5 separate regions of the Homo sapiens genome follow, and all the other regions are linked to region 2. Evidence: promoter capture Hi-C in 16 types of primary human blood cells and fetal thymus (Javierre and others, 2016). All regions are on one chromosome and are shown on one strand. Each heading gives the region's core, a stretch centred on a gene start or on the middle of the fragment in contact. The rest is flanking DNA. Distances are from core to core; before and after follow the strand shown. Region 1 overlaps LRBA (LPS responsive beige-like anchor protein). Region 2 holds the start of MAB21L2 (mab-21 like 2). Region 3 overlaps LRBA (LPS responsive beige-like anchor protein). Region 4 overlaps LRBA (LPS responsive beige-like anchor protein). Region 5 overlaps LRBA (LPS responsive beige-like anchor protein).

The links. The method cuts DNA at HindIII sites, captures the fragments that hold promoters and counts their contacts. A CHiCAGO score of 5 or more calls a contact.
Region 1: a fragment that was not itself captured here is called in contact with the fragment with the promoter of MAB21L2 in region 2 in 2 of 17 cell types (megakaryocytes and endothelial precursors); the score reaches 6.1 in megakaryocytes.
Region 3: a fragment that was not itself captured here is called in contact with the fragment with the promoter of MAB21L2 in region 2 in 1 of 17 cell types (megakaryocytes); the score reaches 5.2 in megakaryocytes.
Region 4: a fragment that was not itself captured here is called in contact with the fragment with the promoter of MAB21L2 in region 2 in 2 of 17 cell types (megakaryocytes and M1 macrophages); the score reaches 9.9 in megakaryocytes.
Region 5: a fragment that was not itself captured here is called in contact with the fragment with the promoter of MAB21L2 in region 2 in 1 of 17 cell types (endothelial precursors); the score reaches 5.7 in endothelial precursors.

The regions. Positions count from the first base shown.
Region 1 is chr4:150,842,000-150,848,029 of GRCh38, forward strand. LRBA (LPS responsive beige-like anchor protein) reads right to left here. Exons shown (of 57, transcript NM_001364905.1): 27 at 2,659-2,780; 28 at 2,101-2,208. Among named protein-coding and RNA genes, the nearest start is that of LRBA, 170 kb to the right of the region's middle. The HindIII fragment of the contact is 1,567 bases long and covers 1,756-3,322 here.
Region 2 is chr4:150,579,242-150,584,715 of GRCh38, forward strand. It overlaps MAB21L2 (mab-21 like 2), which reads left to right and starts at 2,910. Exons shown (of 1, transcript NM_006439.5): 1 at 2,910-5,452. The coding sequence starts at 3,789. The coding sequence ends at 4,868. The region is part of intron 40 of LRBA (LPS responsive beige-like anchor protein); the gene reads right to left. LRBA-AS1 (LRBA antisense RNA 1) reads left to right here. Exons shown (of 2, transcript NR_149035.1): 1 at 1-114; 2 at 363-1,993. The HindIII fragment of the contact is 6,793 bases long and covers 1-5,474 here.
Region 3 is chr4:150,923,091-150,929,090 of GRCh38, forward strand. It overlaps LRBA (LPS responsive beige-like anchor protein), which reads right to left. Exons shown (of 57, transcript NM_001364905.1): 3 at 5,744-5,975; 4 at 5,426-5,526. Among named protein-coding and RNA genes, the nearest start is that of LRBA, 89 kb to the right of the region's middle. The HindIII fragment of the contact is 4,640 bases long and covers 823-5,462 here.
Region 4 is chr4:150,274,399-150,280,103 of GRCh38, forward strand. LRBA (LPS responsive beige-like anchor protein) reads right to left here. Exons shown (of 57, transcript NM_001364905.1): 56 at 3,455-3,606. Among named protein-coding and RNA genes, the nearest start is that of DCLK2, 200 kb to the left of the region's middle. The HindIII fragment of the contact is 2,493 bases long and covers 3,051-5,543 here.
Region 5 is chr4:150,899,241-150,905,131 of GRCh38, forward strand. LRBA (LPS responsive beige-like anchor protein) reads right to left here. Exons shown (of 57, transcript NM_001364905.1): 14 at 809-977. Among named protein-coding and RNA genes, the nearest start is that of LRBA, 110 kb to the right of the region's middle. The HindIII fragment of the contact is 1,918 bases long and covers 2,951-4,868 here.

The sequences.
Region 1 (6,030 bases), core at 1,289-3,788, 260 kb after region 2:
GACTAAACTCTAGCATGTAAAATATAGTGTTTTCTTTTTTCTAAAACTCCTATAAGGTGATTATATAACTTTTATAATTACAAAACACTTAAAATTATTTATGACTTTCAGTAATCATATAGTAAAGGAGATATTCTAATTGTTTGCAGAATATTGTAATATAATAACTGGTTAGAAGGTTCTTCAAGAGCCAGATCATCCAGAGGCACTGTGAAGAGTTTGGATTCCATTTAACCACTAAAAGATGATATTAGAGAATTCTGAAAGAAAAAGAGTAACATCATCTATTCTAGTTTATTTGTTTGTTTATGAGACAGGGTCTTGCTGTGTCACACAGGCTGTAGTGACACAATCATAGCTCACGGTAACCTTGACCTCCTAGGCTCAAGCGATCCTCCCCACCTCAGCCTCCCAAGTAGCTAGGACTAGAGGCGTGTGCTACCACATGTGGCTAATTCTATTCTAGATTTTTAAGGATCATTCTAGGAAATATAAAGTTATGGACAATAGACTCAGAACCTGCCCAATGGAAAAAAAGTGAACAGAGGAGAAAACAGCAACATTTGGTCCTCAAACTGACCACATTCAAAGGATTCCAGGGAGAAAAAAAGTTGATGGCTTCTTAATTAAAGGAATAATAACAGCTACTAGAGAACTATGATCTAAGAAGGTAGTATAGCCTTTTAGTTAAGATCAAAATTTCAAGAATCAGATTCCCTAAGTCCTAAACTCACTTTCACCTCTTACTAATTGTATAATCTTAAGCACATTACTTAAATATTGCTAACTCCCTCATAGAATTATTGTGAGAATTAAACACACATATACAGCATTGGTCCCCAACCTTTTTGGCACAAGGGACTAGTTTCATAGAAGACAATTTTTCAATGGACCTGTAGGGGGTAAGAGGCGGGGTGGGGGTAGGGGGCATGGTTTCAGGATGATTCAAGTGCATTACATTTATAATTAGATTTTCATAAGGAGCGCACAACCAAGATCCATCGCATGCACAGTTCACAATAGGGTTCGTGCTCCTATGAGAGTCTAATGCTCCTGCCCATCTGACCAGGAGGCGGAGCTTGGCTTCACTCCTCACCCTTTGCTCACCTCACCTCCTGCTGTGCAGCCTAAGTGCAGGTCAGTGGTCTGGGGGTTGGGGACCCCTGATAAGAGCATCCAGTATCATGTTTAATACACAGTAAGTATTCAATACTATTAAGTAGTGATAATACTCCAAATTCTACATATGCATAAAAACCTAGTCAAGAACTAAAGAGAATAAAACTATTGAAAAAAAGGGAGGGGAAAAAGAAAAATTGAGGTTAGAAAGTTTGTAAGAAATATATATGTAAAACATACAGTAAGTGTTCAACAAATATTTACTAATGATAATATTCCAAATGCTGATGAGTGCAATTATAAATTATTTTTACTTTCATCTTTATACTTTCTATATGACTTTAAATTGTCTACATAAGAATTAGCAATGTTTTCTATCAAAATCAGCTGAAACAAAACTGTTTTTCAACTTTAAAAAATTAGAAACACCAAACTGAGAGCAACATTTCATCATGCACCTTTTTATCACATTAGTGTACCTTTGAGGAAAAAATATCCAATATTCAGTAAAATAATATGCCATTCAGAAGTTGAACATTTTATTACATTCAGAGCATCAATTTTAGAATTAAGACTGCTGGGTTTGAATCCTGATTTTATCATTGTTTATCAACACTAGCTTGGAGATGTTACTCAAGCTTTATGTGCCTTAGATTATTCATCTATAAAATGGAAATTACAATAGTACAGCTCAATAAGTTGTTGGACTTAATTAATACATGTATATCACTTAGACTGCTTACTATGTAATAATGCATTATTCCTTTTAATATCACTATGCTGATCTGCTAGCTCGCTTTATATAAACTATCTTTTCTAATATTCTGTTTCTAAAATCATTGTCAAAAGAAGTCGTTTCTAGACCTTTCTATCTCTGCTCCACTATTTGATATCACAAAGAATTTTTAATCTCAATACATTAGGCCTAAGAGGAAATATGCATCAGTTAAGAGAGTATGTGAAAGACATATTGTAACTTACTATGTCTCTGAAAACAACTGCCCTAAGCCGATTAATATCCATGTCCTGTAGAAGCCTGTCAAGATCTCTTACTGGAGATATACCGCCAGTCACAATGTCCACTGGGCTCTATTTAAGATTAAAAAAAAATTGTATATATATATATTCATATATACATTACACAGATATTCTTTAAAAATAAACACAGTATTCCCAGAACCAGAAAAGCAAAGCTATAGCATTCCTTTCCCCACTTTTTTTGTGTGTATGCTTCCTTCTTCTTTGAGGGGTTGGGGAGAGAGGTGGAGAAAGATGGCATGCAGGAAAAAATGACATATTTGAAGGAAAAGGCATCACAGAAACAATCAAAGTAAACACTGGGAAAAGCAGAGAGGTTTAAATATAAACAAATCTTTATTGTGTATTTAAACACAAATATTTGAATGTTATATGCAGGCCTAAAGTAACTATTTTAATCTCTGCCAGATTTATTTAACTTTATGTTGAAATGAACAAATAAAAATCTTAATTGTAAAATAGGAGTATGCTTTTTGAAAATTAATTAATCTGTATACTTACCTTCGCTGCAGATTTCCCTAAAGGAATAAGGCTATGCATTGGTTTCAAGGCTTTATCTCCCCTAGTTTTCAGTTGTGAATGCTGTTGACACTCCAAGCAATTCCTTACTGCGACTGCACAAACTGTAATTTATTTTAAGGAAAAGATAGGGAAAGAAAAGTTAATATTTAAGATTATGGAAGTGAAAAACATCAACTACACAATATGATTTACATAAGATTTTATTCAAAACAGACGACATTCAGCTTATTCCTAAAATGTCCCTAGACTTTATCGCCTAGTGTTGGTTGTCTGATATTGTTAGCTTCCATGCTGTGGCCCAGTTAAGATTTAGGGAGGCAGTATGGCCTAGTGGTCTAAACGTTTAGGGTTTGCTGAAAGGAAATCAGTTCAGGAATCTTAACAATAGGCTACTATTTCTTAGATCTCAACTAAGCTAGCTGGGACAATCTTTAGTTAAGAAAAGGATAGGGAAGAAAAGAATTGAAAGAAATGGAAGAAAACAGGGAACAAAGTACATTACCATGAACTAGTCGAGGTAACAATCTTCTATTACCATCATTAAAGTAAATTAGTTAAACTGGAAACTTTGATGTTCTTCTTATATTGCATCATTACAGCATGATATTAATTGAGACTAATAGAGGATATAGCTTTTGAAAGAAGCTTTATAGGGTCCAGCATTTACTAGCTTTCATTAAAACTGCTTAGAAAATGGGAGACAGGAAAGGGAATTTGATTAATATACAGTCTAAAATTACCTAAGGCTCCCACGAATCAGGCAGTTAGATTACTTAGAAATTAATTTTGGATTTTAAATGATGAATTACATTATGTACCCTTCACTATGAATTGCTTGATACCATGTAATCATCTAAATTCCCTCCAAATCTGTAGCACTCAAGGTACTTGAACTGAGCAAAGGAGGGAGAGCAAATTAGGAACAAAATAGCAAACTTAAGGGGGGACTTCACAAAGAATCACTGGCCTATCACATGGCTAGCAGGCATGAGAATTTAGAAAGAAAGTGTTCTGAAAGGTGCCCAAAGAGAGCAATAAAAGTTGAAAGAAAGGAAGGAGGGAACAAGAGGAGGGAAGAGAGAATATGGAATACAGCTTTGTCAAATTTGCTATCAGACCCAAGAAATATTTTACTTTATCAAATTTGCTATCAGACCCAGGAAATACTTTTCATACAAACTTTTTCACAAGTTGCATAAAATCAAATTTGAGTCTGTATTACAAAGTTAAAAATCACACCTCATTTCCTGGTTTCAATCAGTTACTCTTACTGCTGTCATCCTAACTTCTAACTCCAACCTCAGGAAACAAGAATGAGGACACCAGTGTCCATCAACAGATAACTAGATAAAGAAACTGTGGTACATATACGCAATGAAATAATATTCAGCCGTAAAAAAGAAAGAAATCATGTCTTTTGCAGCAATATAGATGGAACTGGAGATCATTATCTTAAGTGAAACAAGTCAGACACAGAGAGACAAATATTGTATGTTCTCACTTATAAGTGGGAGCTAAATAGTGTGTACACATGGAAGTAGAGTGCGTAATGATTGAAAATGGAGACTCAGGCCAGCGGTGGGGGCTCACATCTGTAATCCCAGCACTTTGGGAGGCCGAGGCGGGGGGATCACAAGGTCAGGAGATCGAGACCATGCTGGTCAACATGGTGAAACCCCGTCTCTACTAAAAATGCAAAGAATTAGCCGGGTGTGGTGGGGCACACCTGTAGTCCCAGCTACTCAGGAGGCTGAGATAGGGCAATTGCTTGAACCCGGAAGAAAGAGGTTGCAGTGAGCCCAGATCTTGCCACTGCACTCCAGCCTGGCGACAGAGTAAGGCTCCATCTCCAAAAAAAAAAAAAGAAAGAAAATGGAGACTCAGAACTCAGAAGGATGAGGGGGTGAGGGGGGTCTGATGATGAGAAATTATTTAATGGTACAATGTGTGTTATTCATGTGATGAATACCCTAAAAGCTCTAACTTCACCACTAAGCAATCCATGTATGTAACAAAATTGCACTTGTACCCCATAAATTTACACAAATACAATTTAAAAAAAAGATATCACACATTTGGACTGTTACTTTGTTTACCATACTCTATTAAATGATCTTGGACAAGTCATTTTTTAAGTCCCATTTCCATATATAAGAACAGATGGTACTGGGGTGGATTAAATTATCTCTTAATTCTTTTCCGTGGCTATGAAAAACTAGGAACATAGAGTATTTCCCTAGCCTCTGAATCTGATGATTCTTGAGTAAGGCTTTGCTAGTATAGCCTTGCACTTTTACTTCTAGAAATGTACTCTTTCTAGGAAAGTGAAAAGCCTTCGAAAATGGCACACATAAAGCAATAAAGTCTAAATATTTTAATTATAATACTAATAGATTAAAGAAGTATACTACAATAGAAAGAGTAGGAGCACTAGTTAGACAAAAGTATAGTATTCAAATTCTACCTTCACCAATTATAGCTTTTTAGCTATAGATAAGTTTCCCAATTTCTTTTATCTTCAATTTCCTCATGAATAAAAAGAACAAAATTGTCACCGTGAAAATCAACAATGACAAATGACAATAGTCAATAAATGATAACTTTTATTTTGTTATGCTTACAATTAGAATGTCTCTTAAATTTTAAAACAACTGTCTATAAATTGTTATTCCAAGTTACTTAGAATAGCAAGATATACCATTGATTATTAAATATAAAATACTTGGAATTTTACATTTAAACTAATACTATTAAATACTTTGAATAGCATTTTGAGTAAAAATTATACTTGTGGCAAAAAGCACAGGTATACATTAGTTTATGTAACAGACATTCTTGCTAAATATGAAAAAATATGTCATTAACTACATTTTCCACTTCCATGTTATGTTTTCATAGGTGCTTTATCTCTTCATATGACCATGGCTCCTAATGGTTTGCTTCCATTTCTTGTGCCTTCTCTCCTCACCACCTTCTCTTCACTTAATAATCAAATCATTTAACAAAGTCTCGATATTTACAACTATATAGAAGGAAAATTATGCAAAAAAGGGTTTTTTTGTTTTGTTTTTTGCTTCACCTAAGAAGTCCAGTTAACATTAAAAAGTCATTTCATGTATTTTTACTTTTACTTAGGGAAGAAGTGTTTCCAGGAGAAGAACAGAGATTTCATGATTTTATTAACTGCATTAACAAATTACCACAGCTTTTTTGAATAAAGGCTGTACTTGAATGATGCTAGTTTAGAACGTTGTTATTCCAGTGTGTTTGTAAGAAAAGCAGCATCAACATCACCTGGGACTTGGTAGTCAATTTTAGGCCTTACCCTAGACCTCTATAACCCTTTTTTTT
Region 2 (5,474 bases), core at 1,660-4,159:
GGCTCTTCAATTACAGCCTCCTCGGATACCGTTTCCCCCTTCAATTATTCAACCAGAGGAAGAGAGGACCGCAAAGGCGCAGCTGAAGCTGCTCTTAGAGCAGAGGCAGCCAGAGTGAGTTGGGGTGGGGGAGGGGGGAGAAAGAGAACCAGCAAGAGGGAGCATTATTTGCTGGAAGTGTTTAAGTTTATTGCTCGAATGATGTTTCTAATTAGTACCACGGCCATAAATTAAAGTCGCCTTTGTTTAACTGATTTATTATTTACTAGAGCATCTACCTAAGACAGGGTAAATTGGTAATGAATTGTTTTTAAATCAAAACATTTGTAACGTTTTATCATCCTTCCCTCTGTATGTAAAAGTGGAGAAGCGTAGGGGCAAGGATGCGAGAAAACTTAGCCGAGCTTGACAGAGCCGCCAGTGGAGGTGCAGCGGAGTGTCCGGCGAGTGGTGGCGCGAAGGTCCGCTCGGCCTGGGACGCCCCACCCGAGAGAAGAGGAGAAGGCGCAGGACTTGCGGCGCGGCGGCGGAGCCATGCGAACCAACTCCGCCACCCCTGAGGCTGTTTGCAAACACTCACTCTCGGGAGCGTCGCGGGCCGGGCCATTCGCGAACCAGACGCAACGACGAAGCGACCACCTCGAGAGTGGGGCGGGAAAGCTCCGCACCCTCTATCCCCGCCACCAGTCTCCGCCCAGTAACTGCCCCCGGAGAAGCAACCACGGAGCCCCTCCCGGCCAGTCGCGCTCTCCCGGCAGCGCAGTGCCCTCCGGCCCAGGCAGTTCCCAGAGCGCCGGCAAGGCCTCCCGGGTTAGAGCCGGGCTCCCACAGGCGCGAACTCCGAGGGCGCGAGGTCCCCTAGATCCTTAGGCGGCGAGGCGTTCCGGGACGCACGCGGCCTCCCCGGAGAAGGCTGGAGGTCAAGCAGCCCAAGTCTCTGCCACTCCAGAGAAGTTAACTAAAGCTCTGGAGTCCAAGAGTCGCGCGGACACTTAATTCTGACTCTTCTTCCTAATCGCGGGAAGACAAACCCTAAGCAACAAATCCGAGATAGTTTTTTTTTAAGCAAATATTCCTTAGAAAGGGACTTATGGCAACGAGAGAGGAAGGGTGACAAACTGCCTGTGGTCCGCACCAGGTATGTAAGAAAGAACCAAGAGGCCCAATTGTCTGATACCAAGTAGATAGAAAGAAATTAACTTCCCTATGCAATTCAATTCAGGTTCACCCGGCCGGACTTTAAGAGGGTAAGTCAAGCCCTCCCAAGGGGTTTTGAAAAAGCCGAACTACCAGGTTTCTAAAACGAAGTCTTCACCCAAATGGACGCATAGATTTTTATTTTTATCGCATAACCCAGGGCTGGAATATAACCTCCCAAATCAAACTAAAAATAATCACATCTACCTGAAATACGTTAAAAAGATTCAGAATCCAGACATCTTAGGTTCATACATAAACCCTCAGTATCAAGCAAATCAGAAACAATGTTCTAGCTTTTTTTTTCACCCAAAAGTATGGAAAGGCTACAGTGGGTACAACTCGTTTAGGATAATACATATACTAAAAGCACATGCATGCCTTTCATTGAAATGCCTAGGGAGGAGTGAAGCCATCTGTGTAATCAATAACAGGATAGTTATAGATTTTTGTGGCAGTGAAGTCTTTTAAAAGCAAGAGTCAATTATGAAAATAAAATCATTTTACAAATGAAACTCTGTACCTGTACCCCCTAAGAATACATTCACAATTAGATTTACAACAGTAAGATTTTAAGAAAACTTTAGGTTTACATTTACTTGCCTTGTTTTTCATTAAGTTTGAAGCAATTTTAGTAGCTTATTTTAAAAGTATATCCTACTAAGTTCTACGACATGTAAGTTTGCACCATTTCTCACAACTTAGATATTTTCTCTCTCGTAACTAGTTAATTCTTGTAACGATAAAATAATGGTATTAAATACATGTGAATCTTAATTATGAAATAATTATCAAACAAGGTGCTTGGACTAGTTTTTGCCCTGCCCTGTTTTTAAACAGCATATCGAAATTACTAAAAAGAGATTTATAAACCCTCACCTTATATCCACTCCAACCCTCACTGGTGCACATATACAGCAACTGCTCTGATTCTTGGCAACAATGGGAGGGGAGGGGAAGAGAAAGGAGGATGACTTTAAAGGAGGAAAAAACCTGGAAAAATTAGGTCCTTTCCCAGATTCCCCTTTCGCTTCCCATTTGCCTTCAAGCCAAAGTAATTTTGTTACAGTTTGCACCTTCTACTACACAATGTTGATAGAATCATTTAAAAAAAAAAAAAGTGAACCTTTCTGAACCATTGCTACTCTCCCTCGCGTTATTCCAGCCATCTCCAGGAGAGTCCCTTCTATATAAACTCTTTTTCTTCTTTGCTACTGATAAGAGAGGAGGATAAAGAGGAACGGCTGTAAAATGTGTGCAAGCATTTGACTCCCATTATCTCCTCCTATTTTCTTACTTCTCTCTTTACCCTGTTTCTTTATCAAGTGCAGTGGTGGCTGCTACCGTTCGCCAAGCGTGCCTGTCTTCTCTCTCGGATTGGCTAAAGCACTGACAGCTCGGATAGCGATTGTAGGAACTGAAGCTCCACCCCCTCATGATGGCCCTGGGACCATTCATAAACTAAATAACTCCAGGAAACAGCGAGGGAGAGAGAGAAAGAAAGAGAGAGGGAGAGAGAGAGACAGAGAGAGTTAGAGGAAAGAAGAGAGAGCGAGCACGAGGAAGGGGGGCGGGGGAGAGAAGCAGGGGGAGAGCGGGGCGAGAAAGAGGTCGGAGGGGAGAGGAGGGGGAGAGACGACTCAGAAAGTGGAATCTGTAAAAGCAAGCTAGAGGAGAAGAAGGAAAACCCTGAATCGTTATAACTACACCCCAGATGCAACGCAAGCAACGACTTCGTCACACTAAAACGGATTTTGTGAGGGCCAAAAGTATAAATTACGAAGCAGAAATGATTATCAAACAACTTCCAGCGGTTTGCACCTAAAGAAACACAAGGAGAACCCACTACAAACAAACAAACCCAGTCCAAACAACGCCTCCAGTAGGAAAAGAGGAAAACTGCGATAACACGACCCCCCGAGAAGAGACGAGACCAACACGCTGAGACTGTGGGGCGTCAGCAAACCTCCAAGTGCACGGCGGACTGAGTTGTACTTCGCAGCTCTCTGGACATTAATTACCTCCTGCACCTTCCATTTGGGGGAGGGTGAGGAAGAAGGCACTCACCTACACTGAGCGAAGAAGTCCTATCAGCGTGGAAGAGAAGTTTAAGAATGAACCACTGAATGTTTCGCTTTTATTTTTAAATTTACTTTGGCACTTAAAAAACCTCATTTCCAGATTTCTGGACAATCTCGGCTGCAGACATCTAAGCCTAACCTTTTGGTATCCTGAGTTTTTTCCCTCTCCTTCTCCTTCCTCACGCCCACCCCGCTTCTCTCGCACACGGTCATCTTTACATATCAAGAGAAAGCAAAAAGGTTCCAAGAGGTACTTTTCTTTTTAGAAAATCACCTTTTCTCCCCTAATTCTTCTGCAGAAGAAAAGAGGTTTCGAAAGAGGGAAAAGGAAAAAACAAGCCGGCTACGGTATCAGCCGGTCAGCCCAGGTGGAAAACGAGAGTGAAAGTAGGGCTTAACGGGGAGCGCACCGCCTCTTTCGAAAGCCGCTGGGCCACCACCAGTGCGTGAGCCTTGGATCCCTCAACGTATTGCGAGACGCCGGTGTATAGCCCGGACCTGTGCCCCAACATGATCGCCGCTCAGGCCAAGCTGGTTTACCAGCTCAATAAGTACTACACTGAGCGCTGTCAGGCGCGCAAGGCGGCCATCGCCAAAACCATCCGAGAGGTCTGTAAGGTGGTCTCGGACGTGCTCAAGGAAGTGGAGGTGCAGGAGCCTCGCTTCATCAGCTCCTTGAGCGAGATCGATGCCCGCTACGAGGGGCTCGAGGTCATTTCGCCCACCGAATTTGAGGTGGTGCTCTACCTAAACCAGATGGGCGTCTTCAACTTCGTGGACGACGGCTCGCTGCCCGGCTGCGCAGTGCTCAAACTGAGCGATGGGCGGAAGCGGAGCATGTCTCTCTGGGTCGAGTTCATCACGGCGTCGGGCTATCTCTCAGCGCGTAAGATCCGCTCGCGTTTCCAGACGCTGGTGGCCCAGGCGGTGGACAAGTGCAGCTATCGGGATGTGGTCAAGATGATCGCGGACACCAGCGAGGTCAAGTTGCGCATCAGGGAGCGCTATGTGGTGCAAATCACTCCGGCGTTCAAGTGCACCGGGATCTGGCCTCGCAGCGCGGCACAGTGGCCTATGCCCCACATCCCTTGGCCCGGCCCCAATCGGGTGGCCGAGGTCAAGGCCGAAGGGTTCAACTTGCTCTCGAAGGAGTGCTACTCGCTGACCGGCAAGCAGAGCTCGGCAGAGAGCGACGCCTGGGTGCTACAGTTCGGGGAGGCGGAGAACCGCCTGCTGATGGGCGGCTGCCGAAACAAGTGCCTCTCAGTGCTGAAGACTCTGCGGGACCGCCACCTGGAGCTACCCGGCCAGCCGCTCAACAACTACCACATGAAGACGCTGCTGCTGTACGAGTGCGAGAAACACCCACGAGAAACGGACTGGGACGAGTCGTGCCTGGGCGACCGGCTCAACGGCATCCTGCTGCAGCTCATCTCCTGCCTGCAGTGCCGCCGCTGCCCTCACTACTTTCTGCCCAACCTCGACCTCTTTCAGGGCAAGCCCCATTCGGCCCTGGAGAGCGCTGCCAAGCAGACCTGGAGGTTGGCCAGGGAAATTCTCACCAATCCCAAAAGCCTGGACAAACTATAGGGTGCTGGGGACTGCTTGAAAAGCGACACAAACGGGCGTGCTCTCTCAGACACACAACTCTGCTATAAACAGCAGAAACTCTGGACACAAACTTTTATGTAAGTCACCTGAAATAGGAATCCGGCAGAAGACCTTCATTAATTAAGAAGCAAACAAAAAGAGAGCAACCCAACCAAAACAAATCACATTCTTGCACAAAAGTGATCGTTTTCTTCCAAACAATGTGAATTTAAAAGGTCACACAAAAGAAGCAATCGGGCTCCGCCACCACAAAATGAAACCCAAGGTACATTTTCAAATCAATGTATAGTAGTTCCCCCCCCTTTTCCTTCTTTCCCCCTATCCTTTTTCTCTCCACCCCATCCCCCCCCCCATTTCGTTTTGCTTTTGGTTGCCTGAATGTTGTCACCAAGTGAAAAAATTATTTAACTATATGTAAAATTTCTCTTTTAAAAAAAAGTTTTACTGATGTTAAACGTTCTCAGTGCCAATGTCAGACTGTGCTCCTCCCTCTCCTGAACCTCTACCCTCACCCTGAGCTGTCTTGTTGAAAACAGTAATAAAAACATTACTTTACATTGTAATTGACTGTTTGTGGATTGTTCT
Region 3 (6,000 bases), core at 1,893-4,392, 340 kb after region 2:
TATTGTCAACTTAAGATGGGTTTAGCCGGAGGTAGCCCCATCCTAAGTGAAGGAGTATACTGAATGCATATCACTTTCACACCATCGTAAAGTCAAAAAAAAAAAAAAACAACTATACTTTCACCATTAAAATAGGGACCAAAACCTTTAACATGGACTATAAGATACTTTATCTACTTCTTTAGCCTCATTTTGCTTCTTACTCTCCCCTTCTCCCTGCACTCCATCCTTTTTTCAGTCTTCTTCCCACAACAGGGCCTCAGCAAAAGCTATTCCTTATGCTTAAAATGTTCTCAAAAGGACCCCTGTACTCCCCTCTTATCCAAGTCAATCTTACCCAGCCTTTAGAGCTCATCTTAACAGTCACTTCCTCAGGGTAGCCTTCCTTGAAACTGAGAGTGGATTAAACTTCCCTATCATATTTCATTCTACAATATACCTTTACCGCATAGCATATAAATATATGTATACGCATAGCATATACATATAAAAGCTGCAACGCTGAGTTTATTTGATTAATGTTTCCTTGGTCCACAAGTCTCTAATACATGAAACAACCAACAATAAAAATGAAAAATCTCATTTGCAGTTACAAGGAAAAACAAAAGATAATCAGACATACTATCTCATTTTAATCAGTTTATAACCAAATAAGAAAAGTGTGGGGCATTCCTCCTTGTTAAAAATGTAAAAGTTCAAAACAGGGTCAAACTACAAATGAAATCATTGGTTTGCCTTCATCTTATTTTTATAGATGATATAAATTATAATTACTACCTGTGTAAAAGAGTTTGGCAACCTTTCACCTAAATATTAAGTGGAAGCTTCATTCTTAAGTGAACAAGAAATTTTCAATTAACCATACTGCTCAATTGTAAAAGCATAATAACAAGTAACTACAATCACAGTGATTTTTTAAAATAAATTCCAAAGTAAAATAAAGTAACCAAAAATAACTCTGCAGTTAAAAATAAAAATACAGTATTATAGCATGTCCATCTAGAAACATCATTCCTCCAAATTTCCTTTCCTATAAATCAGTCAACAAAAGAATACATTAAGATAAGCACTTTACTTGACAGACATTGCTGGGGGAGTGTATACTGTACTGGTAAAGCCTTTCAGAAAAAAATTTAGTAGACCAGGCACAGTGGTTCACATCTGTAATCTCAACACTTTAGGAGGCCAAGGTGGAGGGATCGCTTGAGCCTAGGGGTTTGAGACCAGCCTGGGCAACATGGAGAAACTCCATCTCTAGAAAACAATACAAAAATTAGCCAAGAATGGTGGCAAGTGCCTGTGGTCCCAGCTGCTTGGAAAGCTGAGGTGGGAGGATTGCTTGACCCAGGAGGCAGAGGTTGCAGGCAGCCGAGATAGCACCACTGTACTCCAACCTGGGTAACAGAGCAAGACTCTGTCTGAAAAAGAAAAAGAAAGAGGAAAAGAAAAAGATGTAGTAGTCATATTTCAAGAGTCCGTAAAGACGTTCATGTCCACCAATGCAATATTTCCACATGTAAAAATCTATGCTAAAGTAATCACCACAAGGGCAGACAGAGATTTAGATATAGGGATTTTTTCACTGCACTGCTATAACAGCAAACGATAGAAATAATATGCCTAATATTAAATAACTAAATAAACGTAATGAGTATCTGAGCAAGGCCTTGCTCTCATTTTATAAATAGTTCATTATTTTTTCCCTTTATCATCTAAAACTATTCTCATTCTCCTCCCCCTCCCCATAGGCAACTATATTAACATGTTTAATCTTTTTTATGTAGATTATTCCTTCAAAAATAATGTTTGGGGCTGAGTGTGGTGGCTCATGCCTGTAATCCTAGCACTCTGGGAGGACTGCTTGAGCTCAGGAGTTTGACACCAGCTTGGACAACATGGCAAAACCCAGCCTCTAAAAGAAATGCAAAAATTAGCCTGGCATGGTGGCACATGTCCGTGGTCCCAGCTACTTGGGAGGCTGAGGTGGATCTCTTGATACCAGGAAGCTGAGAATGCAGTGAGCCATGATCACACCATTGCACTCCAGCCTGGATGAGAGTGAGACCCTGTCTTTAAAAAAAAAAAAAAGAAAAGAAAAAAAGGTTTTTATGTGCTTACACTTATCATTGCTTTCTTTCCTATATATTTTACATCTATTCCTATTACTCCATGTACTGATTCTGTTATAGAACAATCTACCTTCTATACATTTTACCAATCCACTCTCTTAATGATGAACATCCATGTTAACATTCACTGCCATCAAAAATAATGCTTCAGTGAACATCCTCATGTATTTTATGGATCTATGTGAGAATTTCTTGGAATACGCACTCAGAAGTGAATTATTAAATCACTGGATACAGGTAAAATTAACATGACTAAGTAGCACTAGACTCCTCTTGAGGTTGGCTCCACTGGTGTTCATTCTAATGAAAAGCGCACCAAGTATAAAATAACCCTATATCCCAAACTATACTTGCCATTTTCCAACTTTAAAATTCTTGAGAAACTACAGATGGAAGGTGACAATATCAATACTGTTTTAATGTGAATGTCTCTAATTATTAATGATTTTGTGTTCATTTGGTTGTGGGGTTTCTACCTCTGTAAATAAATATTAGTTCATATTATTTGCTATTTTCTTACCTATAATTTTCTATGCTTATGAATATAATAAAAATACATTACATATTCAGAATAAATAATGTGAATATAAATAAAAACCAAAATCAAATATATACTTTCTCTTCTGGACACGACATATTAATAGGACCTGGACTTACCAACCTACCATAAACAACTAGAAAAGTGGGCAAAATGTATCAAACAAAAACAGTTTTCAGTATGCAGGAAGAGGTAGCTCAAGACTGTGTTCCCTGAGAAAACAAAATGACTTAAACCTGGAGTCAATTTCCATATCATTGCACAGGGAAACCAAACAGAACCCGAAAGTCTCAGTGAGTTGGAAAGAAAGTGGAGTCCACAGAAGATAGAAGTTTCAGAGAAGAATACTAGGGAGGAAAGAACTGAACAGACAAGAAGCTCCAGAAATCTGCATTGACTCTTTGACTTAATACCAGACTGATCATGCTTATGATAAAACTCAACATGGTGGGGCTAAGATAGTAAGAGCTTTAAGTTAAAGAATTCCCAAAACTAATACAGAGCTAGGAATTGTTGAGACCCTACTAGACACTTCGGAGAGACCACAGTCTTGCTACCTCCTGTCCTATGTCTGAGACTTGAGAGTTATTCAATAGAGACCCTCTAAGAGACACGCCTGAATAGTAAAACTAAACTAGCCGTAGCGTAACAGCCACTCTAAACCTTACTGGAAAAAAAACTTTTAAACTAGTTTTGAAGGATAAAGTTGATCCACAAATAACTTATCTGCCTACAAAACCAGTCTAACAATCTTAAAAGGAATATGACAAAATCCAACACTCAGCAACATAAAATTTGCTATGTCTGATATATTGTCTAAATTCAGTAGCCATAAGCAGCAGAAAAATGTGACCTACATAAAGGAGCAAAATCAATGAGTAAAAAACTGACCTAGAAAATGACATTCTAGAATGAAAAACCAAGAGCATTAAAGCAACTATTCATATGCTAAATATTGTCAAGGATTTAAAGGAATTAAATGAGGGAAAAAATGGAAAATATTTAAAAGAACCAAATAGAATTTACAGAAAGAGACCAGGCATGGTGGCTTATGCCTGTAATCCCAGCACTTTGGGAGGCCAAGACGGGTGGATCACAAGGTCAGGAGTTCGAGACCATCCTGACCAACACTGTGAAACCCTGTCTCTACTAAAAATAGAAAAGTTAGCCAGGCGTGGTGGTGTGCGCCTGTAATCCCAGCAACTCAGGAGGCTGAGGTAGGAGAATTGCTTGAACCCAGGAGGTGGAGGTTGCAGTGAGCAGAGATCGCACCACTGGACGTTAGCCTGGCGACAGAGCAAGACTCCGTCTCAAAAGAAAGAAAAAAAAAAAAAAGGCCAGGCGCGGTGGCTCACACCTGTAATCTCAGCACTCTGGGAGGCCAAGGCGGGCAGATCACAAGGTTAGGAGATCGAGACCATCCTGGCTAACATGGCAAAACCCCGTCTCTACTAAAAATACAAAAATTAGCCGCACTTGGTGGCATACGCCTGTAGTCCCAGCTACTTGGGAGGCTGAGGCAGGAGGATGGCATGAACCCGGGAGGCAGAGCTTGCAGTGAGCCGAGATCATGGCACTGCACTCCAGGCTGGGCAACAGAGCGAGACTCTGCCTTAAAAAAAAAAAAAAAAAAATTTACAGAAAGAAAAATATACTATCTGAAATTTCAGTGGATGGAATTAACACACTGCTGAAGAAAAGATCAGTTAACTTGAGACTACAGCAATAAAAACTATCTAAAATAAAGCACAAAAAGATTAAAAAAAGAGTTAACAGATCCCAGTAACCTGTGAGAAAATATCAAGAGGTCTAATATATCTGTAATTGGAGTCCCAGAAAAGACAGGAAGCGGGGACAAGAAGACAGTATTTGAAGAAACAATGACTAAAATGTTTCCAAATTTTGTGACAATTATCTTATACCCCCACAGAAGCAAAAACTCTAAGAAGATAAACACAAGGTAAGCTAGAACCAGAAATATAATCAAATTCAATGAAAATTAGTAAAAAAAACTAAAATTAGACAGTAAACTGGAGTTTGAGAGAAATATGCTAAAGAATCTAAATTTTAACATAATGAAAAAGAGTAATTGTAGGGCACAGTTTTAGATACATTTAATGAAAGCTAGATTAAGGATCAGCTGGCTGAGCTGTTGCTGTGGGCAATGATCTCTAAAGGGCACTAAAATAAGATTGGAAATGCAACAAAAATGGAGAAAATATTTACTACTCCTCTTCAATGGGACAGATAACTATATGGTGGAAGAAACAGTTTGATAAGGCACCTGGGGTTCAAAATAAGTTCACCCCCATCACTACCCATTGCAAATGACTCCTAAGTTGCATCTCAAGAGGGTAGATCCAATTAACTGCAGAGGTTTTGTTCACGGAGTGAGTTACTCAAGTTTAAGCCACTCAGATAAAACTAGATCAAAAAGAAGAAAAGGTAGGTACTACTACCTAATACTTTTCTTTCTCTACATTTATCTTTTTTTCTAATAAATATTGAATGTACATTTAAAGAACAACATTTTGAAGAAGAATTAAATTACCAGTTTGCCTGAAACACCATTATCTTAGTGCATACTCTTAGTGTCCAAGTATGGCACGAGTAGCCACAGGGATCTCAATGCTATTTTAATTAATCTATTCAATTTGACAATTATCCCATGTATAATAATATCAGTTACTTTACAAGCTACGAATGTGTTTGGGAGGAGCATACTTTAAAATACCAAAGAGTACTTAAGTTTTTTTACCCATCGTCCTTTATCTCCTTGAAGTTTACTGAAGAAAAGCTTTAGCTCGCGAACTGTCAAATTATAGCTAGCCAGCACTCCCAACATGTCAACCAAAAGATCTGGAAACAAAAGAAAACGATAAAATAACTCAGCTAGTTATATTTCTCGAATATTTAAAATAAACTGTGCTTATTTAAGGGCTTGGACACTAAAGTTCTAGGTGCATGCTACATGCTCAAATATTTCTTAAATATTGCTAAATGGAATAAGAAAAATATGTATTTGAAAATCAAACTTTATTTCTTTGCATATATTGTACTATAGAAAAAATCATACCTGCTATCATATTGTCAACTTTTTCAATTTTCCCAAGCACTTTTTCAACAAGGCCTACTTCAGTGCAGACTTGAAGATTCCGTATGCTTTTCTTCAGAATGGCTGTAAACATGCTCCAGACTTCTGCTTGGCACGTAATGTCACATTTTTCCAGTAGGTCCACCATGCAGTTAATACTCTCACCTTCTTGGATAATGAAATTCATTTCCAGATCAAACTGTCCTCCTACCAACTTACAAGGAAAAAAAAAAAACACA
Region 4 (5,705 bases), core at 3,047-5,546, 300 kb before region 2:
CTACAGAAGGAAGAGCAAACACATTCAAAAGCTAGCAGAAGACACTAAGATCAGAGGAGAACTGAAGGAGACAGAGACACAAAAAACCCTTCAGATCAATGAATCCAGGAGCTGGTTTTTTTGAAATGATCAACAAAATAGACCACTAGCCAGATTAATACACAAGAAAAGAGAGAAGAATCAAATATACACAATAAAAAATGATAAAGGGGTTATCACCACTGATCACACAGAAATACAAACTACCATCAGAGAATACTATAAACACCTCTACGCAAATAAACTAGAAAATCTAGAAGAAATGGATACATTCTTGGGCACATACACCCTCCAAAGTCTAAACCAGGAAGAAGTCAAATCCCTGAATAGACCAATAACAAGTTCTGAAATCAATAGCCTACCAACCAAAAAAAGTCCAGGACCAGACAGATTCACAGCCAATTTCTACCAGAGGTACAAAAAGGAGCTGGTACCATTCCTTCTGAAACTATTCCAATCAATAGAAAAAGAGGGAATCCTAACTCATTTTATGAGGCCAGCATCATCCTGATACCAAAACCTGGCAGAGACACAAGAAAGAAAGAAAATTTCAGGCCAATATGCCTAATGAACATCAATGCGAAAATCCTCAATAAAATACTGGCAAACCAAATCCAGGAGCACATCAAAAAGCTTATCCACCATGATCAAGTGGGCTTCATCCCTAGGATGCAAGGCTGGTTCAACATACACAAATCAATAAAAGTAATCCATCACATAAACAGAATCAATGACAAAAACCACATGATTATCTCAATAGATGCAGAAAAGGCCTTCAACAAAATTCACCACCCCTTCATCCTAAAAACTCTCAATAAACTAGGTACTGATGGAATGTATCTCAAAATAATAAGAGCTATTTATGACAAACCCACAGCCAATATCATACTGAATGGGCAAAAACTGAAGCATTCCCTTTGAAAACTGGCACAAGACAAGGATATACCCTCTCTCACCACTCCTATTCAACATAGTATTGGAAGTTCTGGCCAGGGCAATCAGGCAAGAGAAAGAAAGAAAGGGTATTCAGATAGGAAAAGAGGAAGTCAAATTATCCCTGTTTGCAGATGACATGATTGTATATTTAGAAAACCCCAGCATCTCAGCCCAAAATCTCCTTAAGCTGATAGGCAACTTCAGCAAAGTCTCAGGATACAAAATCAATGTGCAAAAATCACAAGCATTCCTATACACCAATAACAGACAAACAGCCAAATCATGAGTGAACTCCCATTCACAATTGCTACAAAGACAATTAAATACCTAGGAATCTAACTTACAAGGGATGTGAAGGACCTCTTCAAGGAGAACTACAAACCACTGCTCAAGGAAATAAGAGAGGACACAAATAAGTGGAAAAACATTCCATGCTCATGGATAGGAAGAATCAATATTGTGAAAATGGTCATACTGCCCAAAGTAATTTATAGAGTCAATTCAATGCTATCCCCATCAAGCTACCATTGACTTTCTTCACAGAATTAGAAAAAACTACTTTAAATTTCATATGGAACCAAAAAAGAGCCTGTATAGCCAAGACAATCCTAAGCAAAAAGAACAAAGCTGGAGGCACCATACTACCTGACTTCAAACTATACTACAAGGCTACAGTAACCAAAACAGCATGGTACTGGTACCAAAACAGATATATAGACCAATGGAACAGAACAGAGGCCTCAGAAATAACACCATGCATCTACAACCATCTGATCTTTGACAAACCTGACACAAACAAGCAATGGGGAAAGGATTCCCTAATTAGTAAATGGTGTTGGGAAAACTGGCTAGCCATATGCAGAAAACTGAAACTGGACCCCTTCCTTACACCTTATACAAAAATTAACTCAAGATGGATGAAAGACTTAAACGTAAGGCCTAAAACCATAAAAACCCTAGAAGGAAACCTAGGCAATACCATTCAGGACATAGGCATGGGCAAAGACTTCATGACTAAAACACCAAAAGCAATGGCAACAAAAGCCAAAATTGACAAATGGGATCTAATTAAAGAGCTTCTGCACAGCAAAAGAAACTATCATCAGAGTGAACAGGTAGGCTACAGAATTGGAGAAAATTTTTGCAATCTATCCAACTGACAAAGGGCTAATATCCAGAATCTACAAAGAACTTAAACAAATTTACAAGAAAAAAACAACCCCATCAAAAAGTGGGCAAAAGATATGAACAGACACTTCTCAAAAGAAGACATTTACGCAGCCAACAAACATATGAATAAAAGCTCTTTATCACTGGTCATTAGAGAAATGCAAATCAAAACCACAATGAGACACCATCTCACACCCTTCAGAATGGCAATCATTAAAAAGTTAGGAAACAACAGATGCTGGAGAGGATGTGGAGAAACAGAAATGCTTTTACATCGTTGGTGGGAGTGTAAATTAGTTCAACCATTGTAGAAGACAGTGTGGCAATTCCTCAAGGATATAGAACCAGAAATACCATTTGACCCACAATCTCATTACTGGGTATATACCCAAAGGATTATAAATCATTCTAGTATAAAGACACATGCACATCTATGTTTATTGCGGCACTATTCACAATAGCAAAGACTTGGAACCAACCCAAATGCCCATCAATGATAGACTGGATAAAGAAAATGTGGCACATATACGCCATGGAATACTATGCAGCCATACAAAAGAATGAGTTCATGTCCTTTGCAGGGACATGGATGAAGCTGGAAACTGTCATTCTCAGCAAACTAACACAGGAACAGAAAAGCAAATACCTCATCTTCTCACTCATAAGTGGGAGTTGAACAAAGAGAACATATGGACACAGAGGAACATCACATACGGGGGCCTGTTGTGGGGGTGGGGGCCTAGGGGAGGGATAGCATTAGGAGAAATACCTAATGTAGATGATGGGTTGATGGGTGCAGCAGACCACCATGGCACATGTATACCTATGTAACAAACTGCGTTCTGCACATGTACCCCAGAACTTAAGGTATAATTTAAAAAAAGATACTTCAAAGAAATATAAAAAGCTTTGCATCACTGTAATCAGAGCCTTTGCTACTTAAATTCTGTCTATTCCTTGAGAACTCAGCCTTTGTCCAAGAGTGGCAATGTCATCAGAAAGAAAATCACACTTTTTAAAAAAGTGTTCTTGGTTTGATTGTACAGGTGACCCCCACAACTCAACTCCATCAGCCCATTTAAATAAATTCCCTCTGCAGGTTTTACTATACAATTTTGAAAAAAAAATTTTTTTTTTCTGTAGAGACAGGGTCTTGCAATGTTGCCCAGGCTGGCTTCGAACTCCTGGGCTCAAGTGATTCTCCTGCCTCAGCCTCCCAAAGTACTGGGATTACAGGTGTAAGCCAACACGACCAGTCCCCTCTGCAGTTTTTGAAACCCCTATTTGTAGCCCATGATTCCAGTGTTACCTCTGGTCGTAAGACAGCGCCATGGCCCGGATTCCAGCGTCACATCCTGGATAGGCAAAGAGCTGCTTGAGGTCCGACACCTGCCGGACCACGACCACTCCTCTGTCTCCTCCTGTGAGCAGGTACTGCCCATCTCGGCTCAGCTGGATGGCCTGTGAGACACAGCAACATTCAGTAGAAATGTGGTTCTAGGAAACTTTCGGCCCCCACCCTGTTTTTGAGTCATTCTTACACCAGCTACTACGGTGCAGAGAGAAGAGAGAGAGATCCTCAGGAGTTTTTAGAAAATCGTGAGTTGTAGAAGATCTGCCATTTTTCAAAAACCAAATGGACAAAGTTCATCAATGCTTGAGATTGTTTTGGCTTTGCTTTTTTAAATACTAGGTAGCAAACTCTTCCAGTTCTACAAATGCTACTGGAATGGTGTGTGTTGTGGACTGGGACCAGTGCTCTAATGAGAAGCCCTGGCATCTCTTCATTTGCACTGCAGACATGCTAATAAGCCTGTTTTGTCCCAAGACTTGGCAGATGGTGCCACCTGACCTTACATCCCCTCTAATCCCCTGCAACTCCAGCTGGAGGGAGGCGGCCAGCAGCCTCGGCACCTTCCCTGAGCCTGCTGGATTTTGACAGCAGTTGGGAAGAAGACTTTGTAGAGAGCTACAACAACTTCCAGGGTGATTAAATCTCAGTTCAGCATTTTCTTGCTCCAGGGCTGACAGTGCTCCAGCCTGTGGTTTAGTCAGCTCTAGGCTGTGCCCCTCTGTCCTTTCCTACTAGCGCTGAACAGACAGTACAGGCTCAGAATTTGCTCTTTGATCCTGTAAAATGGGCATCCATGAATGAAAGCCTGCGGGCCAAGTGCAGCCCACTGCCTGTTTCATATAATTGTTTAACATTTTTTAATGCTTGAATTTTTCATGACACATGAATATTTATATGAATTCCAAATTTGAATCCCCATAAACAGGTTTTTTTTTTTCCCCCCTCGAGACAGGGTCTTGCTCTGTCACCCAGGCTGGAGTGCAGTGGCGCAGTCTCAGCTCACTACAATCTCCACCTCTCAGGTTCAAGTGATTCTCATACCTCAACCTCCTGAGCAGTTGGGATTACAGGTGCCCACCACAACACCCGTCTAACTTTTGTATTTTTAGTAGAGACGGGGTTTCACCATGTTGGTCAGGCTGGTCTTGAACTCCTGACCTCAAGTGATCCACCCGCTCGGACTCCCAAAGTGCTGGGATTACAGGCGAGAACCACTGCGCCTGGCCTTCCATAAATAAGGTTTTACCAGAACATCGCCACACCTATTATTTGTTTATGACTGCTTTCACAGGTAGTTGCAGCAGAGAATGCAGAACCCTCAAAGCTGAAAATATTTACTTTCTGTCCATTTATAGAAAAAGTGTGATTACTCCTAATTGTCCCTCCCTCCTCCAAAAGCCAATCCTATTACCCCTTCCTCTCCTCCTGCCTGGTACCTCCAAGCCTTGCTTTCTTAGCTTATTAAGATACAAATTTCCTTTCTTTAGTGGATGGCATCAGAGTTTTAAAGCCACTACAAACACCTGTAATCGCATGTCCACCTGGACACAGGGGAATACAGATTGTGCTGGCAAGCCAGAAAGAAAAAAACCTAATTTCTGATACATTGACACTGTTCTACATTCAGTTCTAGCATAGCTGCCTTAAGTCTTCACTGTTTGACATATCTTTTAAAAAATCATAGAAAGGCAAAGACTTTCTTAGCCATTTATTTCACATTCACCCAAATGCCAACTTTTAGTAGTCCCTTAAATACAGCTTATTCTCAAGAACACAAAAACACATCTAGGAAATAAAAACCCATGTGTGGAAGACAGTTAGTTACATATTCTCTAAGTTTTGTTAACACAGATATTAAGATATTTTCAAGATGAGCAAAAATCAGTATCCTTTTCCCCCACTCATTTCACAAATGGCAATCTCTAGGGGTGTCTGGGAACTGCAGTGGAGACTAGGACAAACAATTATTTGCTACACTTATAAAATTCAGCTGATGAAAATCCATTAACCTTATGGTTGTAGTTCATTTGAATTTGATACTTGAAGCTTTTTACTGGATAAGTGTTATACTAAAACAAAACCACTGATCTTTAATTCTTTGTTCTAGTAAAGAATCTCTAATCCTGCTTCCATCTGAAATTAAGTAAAACCTGGGCTTTAGGGACTATACAGTCATCAGCATTCAAAACATTTTAATGAATCAGAT
Region 5 (5,891 bases), core at 2,660-5,159, 320 kb after region 2:
TAGGCAGATGCTCTTACACTGAATTTAAGTTGTTACGGATGTGAAAGGGGACCGGCTGCTTGCTACTACAAAGGAAGCGAATATGTGAAAACAGCCAACACAGAAGAATTGGCAAGTGCAGTGAGACAAATTCAGTCCTATGGTCATACTCAGAATACCTTTATCAAGTTGTATCTGGAACTGCCAGTTTATATGAGCTGATTACCTCCCTTTTTGATGTAAGCCAGTTCCAAGGAGACTGTTATAGTTACAACCAAAAGAGCCACTATATGTCAAAAGTTTTATTTTGACCCCTTATATGAACTGCTAGACATGATGAATGAATATTACCCTTTCAGCAAGTTAGTCCTCATTATGTAAGAAAATAATTGCTAACATTTTGTAATTTCATTATCTCTTTAAGAGAAGCAGATAACTCCTACTTCTGCAAGAAACCACCATATTCCCAAAACACCATTTTCAAGGAATCTCATTGTGACAATCCATCTCAGCATCAATTACTAAAAACTAATTAAGAATTTCTTGGCATTTTCAGTGTCTTACAACAACCATCCTAGTCATATTAGCTCCCCAAACAACTCACACCAGCACAAGTAGTATTCTTCCACACAAGTAGCAAGTTATTAAACTCTAGAAACCACAATTTAGGACAAACTATTAACATTATCAATGAGATTAAAATAAAATTTTGCCATAATGGAATATAGAAAAACTGCCCAAATATATGATAGTACTGGTTAAAACAAAAAGAAAAATTAAATCCTGATTTGCATTTGTGTAAAGTAATATACAGACAGAAATTATATACCTAATCCTTTTGGGGTGATACCACTTCGATCCTGAGGATTCACTGCCCAGTAGTAGTACTTCAGCGTGTGCATGATGAGAAGCACTGTTCCAACTCTCCGAATGGTGTTATATATGTTGACTGTACCAATGAATTCCGTGGACAGATAAGTATAGAGCATCAGTTGAACCTACAGAATAAAAATGAAGAACTTAGAGAACCCCACCAGCATTTTATCTGTTTCCAGTAACACTTCCAGGCTGTTTTATTTTCACCACGCTTCTTCCAAAAAGTAAGATGCTGAGCCTGATAATAATATCCATATTAGACAACACATACTCACTGACACACAAGCACATGCACACACACTCCTTATAAAACCAAACCAGGTAATTTCTTCTTTTATAGCAGCATTATCAAATATGGAAACTTTTTGCTGCATTATTCCATGAAAATAACTTTGTGATTCCTATTTAGCAATCAGCAATTATTCCTAAGCATGTGTAACTTCTTTATAATAGACTTATTACTTATGCTATCTATGCATAGTTGTTTGAAAAAGCTAGAATTTCTTTCAAATACAACATTTGCAGAAAATCAGGAGCTAAAATGACTCAAAAGAAAAAGTACTAGTAACTCAAAAGGAAAAAATAAATAGAACAAAACCAAAAGAAAGAAAACCACAGAAAAAGATATAGAGTTTACCTTGAAGAATATTAGAAAAACAGAATTCTATTACAGTAGCTCATTACAAGAAACATTCCAATCTAGCATTTTAATCATAACATTATAATCTCTCAACATGTATATCATGTCCCCCAATTAGGAAAGGATTCTACTAATCTCATTGAAAGTAAATAGTCTAAAAAAATACATAAGAAGTTATATATGTTTATATTAACTTCGAAATATCTCCTCTTCATATGTAAGAGAAAGAAATAATACAAGTGCTACCCCACCACTGCACATTTCATCTTAACAAAAAATTGGCCCACCCCAGTGATTCACGCCTGTAATTTCAGCATGTTAGGAGGCTGAGGCGGGCAGATCACTTGAGGTCAGGAGTTTAAAACCAGCCTGGCCAACATCGTGAAACTTCGTCTCTACCAAAAAATACAAAAATTAGCCGGGCGTGATGGTACACACCTGTAGTCCCAGGTACTCAGGAGACTGAGGCAAGAGAATCGCTTGAACCCAGGAGGTAGAGAGTGCAGTAAGCCGAGAGAGCACCACTGCACTCCAGCCTGGGCAACAGAGACCCTGCCTCAAAAAAAACAAATTTTTTTTCAGTGAAATTATGGGTCTGAAACTCATCAACTATAATCCATTACTTAAAGCAGCAAAAATAACGACTGCTTTTGCTCTACTCTCATGTTGAAATCAATTCATTTTATTGCTAGAGGGTATATTTTATAAGCTGAACAACTGTAAGTATAGGATATATATTCTTCCCTTGACCATAGACCAAACTACTGATCATTTATAACTGAACCTTTATGTTACCTTCCTGGACAATGAGGGCATTTTCCTTTTCAAACCTGCAAGGTACCTCAGTGTCACCTAGGGATTTCTTTAGAGAGCAAAAAGTAGGTACCTATCTTCCAGGTGCCCTGCAAATAAACAATCAAGGCTAAATGAATTAGAGTGTCAGTGAATAAATCTAACATGCTAAAAAGTGGCAGGTTCTGAACCACTTAAAAGCAGGGCTTGGAAGATCATTATAATTCACAAAACCATATATGTATCTATACACATACAATACATTGTGATCTACTGACCTGCCGCAAAATGTTATTTTGATGTAGCTACTGCTGTTCAAATTGATAGGCCCAATCCACTTGTCATTGAGACAATACGACATGCCTCAAATTCTTAACCATGTTATTTCAGTCTCTTAGCAAATATTTACATCTAACTATATGCATAACACTGTATCATGGAAATACAGTGGCACATATGCTGTCCCTAAGTAGCTGAAATACAGTTGAAAAGATTAAAAAAACACTTATATTTAAGCAAAACAAATCAAAGACAATAAATATGCCTACCAAAACATGAAAAAAGTCATGAAGCAATATGTAATTGAGTGACATAGAGCTATGAAATATTATTAATTCAGAGGACAGATAAATTATTATAGGATAAACTGAAATAGTAAAGAAAAGCTTCACTAATAAAGTAGGCATTAAGATAGGCTTTGAAGATGAGTAGTAGAATAGACAGACAGAATACAAGAGGAAATTTCAAGCTAGAAAAATGATGGTTGAAATAAAGGTTTCCCTAGAGTTAGAACAACAGTTCTCAATCTTGACTGCACATTAAAATAACTGAAAAACTTTTCTTTTTTTTTAATACTGATGCCTGAGTCCCATCCCAGTGAGGCAGGAGAATAGGGTCTGGAGGCAGCGAACCTAAGGACTTCCTAGAACTAAATCAAATGGAAATGCTACAGCTATGACAGGAAATATCCTCTCCATTTACATAGGGCATACACCGAGTAAATGACTTTGTAACTTTACTGTATCCTCTTCATTTACATAGGGCATACACCAAGCAACCAATGGAAACCTCTAAAGGTTATTTAAACCCCAGAAAATTCTGTAACAGGGCTCTTGAGCCCCTACGCTCAGGCCTGCTCCCACAGTGTGGAGTGTACTTTCATTTTCAATAAACTTCTGCTTTTGTTCCTTCATTCTTCCCTTGCTTTGTGCATTTTGTCCAATCCTTTGTTCAAGACACCAAGAACCTGGACACTCTCCACGGATAACACCAGATTGATGAAATCAGAATCTGCAGTGGAAGTGGTGGGATTCTATTTTTGCTTGTTTTTAAAAACCTACCCCAACTGATTCTATCAGCAGTCAAGACTGAGAACCACCACTGTAGGGAAACCTTTTGGTACCTCCCTATCCACTGAGGATATTTCCATTTTTAAGCTAGAAAATCTAGAAATAAGAATTGACATGAAATCCTTAGATAAAGGACTAACTACTTCGTTCTGAGAACAATGGGAAACCATTAAAACTGCTGGGGCTAAGAAATTATAAGAGTCATATGTTAGGAAAATATTGGCGTTGGGCATGGTAGCTCAAGACTGTAATCCCAACACTTTCTGGGGCTGAGAGAGGAGGATTGCTTGAGGCCGGAAGTTCGAGACCAGCCTAAACAACAAAGCAAGACCCTAGTCTCTACAAAAAAATTTAAAGAGTTAGCTGGGAATGGTGGCGCACACCTGCAGTATCAGCTACTCAGGAGGCTGAGGCAGGAGGACTGATTGAGCCCAGGAGTTTAAGGTCGCACTGAGCCATGGCCATGAAAAGAACATGTTGGAATTCTGGCAGAATAGTTATAAGTTAGACAAAGAAATGGAAAACTGGAGAAAGTCAGTCTATTGAGAATGATACTGTGGTAAAAGAAAAATGAACAGAGGCTGGGCCTGATGGCTCACACCTGTGATCCCAGCACTCTTGGGGGGCTGAGGCAGGTAGATCACTTGAGCCCAGGAGTTCGAGACCAGCCTGGGCAACATGGCAAAACATCATCTCTACAAAAAAATACAAAAATTAGCTGTGTGTGGTGGTACACAGCTACAGTCCCAACTACTCAGGAGGCTGAGATGGGAGGATCACCTGAGCTGGGGAGGCAGAAGTTACAGTGAGCTGAGATCCCACCTTAGTGACACAGTGAGACCCTGCGTCAAAAAAATAAGTAAACAGAATTTAGTAGCAACGTATAGAGATGAATGAAAGACCTCAAGATTACTCATATGCTAATTATGAATAAACCTTCCCTCATTCACTCATTATGTACTCCAATAGCCACACAAATTGTGTGTTAACATCTGTCTTTCCCACTAAATCTAAATTCTATGAGGGCAAGTATCAAGTCTATCTTGTTCATCACCATATCCACAGTGCCCACCATAAAGTAGTCACTCAACAAATATTTGTTGAGTAAATGAAGGACCATGGTAGACAAGAAAATTCATCTCTCCTGCTAGGTCATTAAAAAGATGTTCTCTGAACAGATCTAAGATAAATGGAAATTATAAATCGCTGGTAGCTCCCTTTTCCAAAAGCAAAGCTTTTCACATCCACACATCCAGACCTTCAACTTTTAACCAGAGGTGGATTGACCACGAAGCTGATAAAGCTTCAACTTTATGACCACTGATCTATAAATGTTTCTTCCAAGACCCTAAACCTAATTTTGTATGCATTATATTGTATTCTTCTTCTTAAAAAATTTCCCACATGATAAACATTTGACCTTCAAGTCAAACAAAATTTGGATCTGCCCTTTTTTATGACTGTCTTTACAATAAAATAAAAGCAGATAAAACCCCTTGTGGATACATAAAGCAGATGGCTAAAACAGGAGAAAATGCTAATATTATCAACTCAACTGCAAATTCTAAAAAGGAAATTGAGAAAAGTTATTAAAAAGTAGAAGATAAGAAATAGAGTATAATAATACTAGGAAACTAAGAAAATCATAAGATGAATTTTTTTTAATTCCCCTCCAACTAAGTATCTAATAAGAGGCTTTCTGACCACATCAAAAGAGACACAAAGCCTTACAAATATGCTGATTAGTAAGACAAAAAAGTATCTAGTAAAAGATTTTAAAAGTAACTTGAAACAATCCTCAAAAAGAAGTAAGACTGAGGGTCATGGAAGAAAATGAGGTCAAATTTGACCTGGAGATAAAAAGCTACAACCTCCAACTGCCTGTTTCGATTATTTCCAAATGGCAATCAGAGTCAGCAGCTGTTTTTCTCTTTAACATTTGAAAAGACCAGCTGAAAATAAAATATTAAGACTCTAGAAAAGCAAAAAAGTCTGCAGACTTTTTTCTGACAACTAGAATAAGTAGGTGCTATTCCAACTTAAACAATGATAAACACTGCAAGTGGGCCAAAAGGCAGAAGGGGAGAGAGGAAAACTGGGCTTGAAATAACACGACTTCTAACAAAAATTGTAGATAAGACGGATACAATTATGCAATTTAATAAAATGATCTGTTTCAAGTTATGCTTAATACTGCCACTACTGAATTTTTAGGACAATGTATTACAACACTAGGATTTATTAAAGATTTTGTT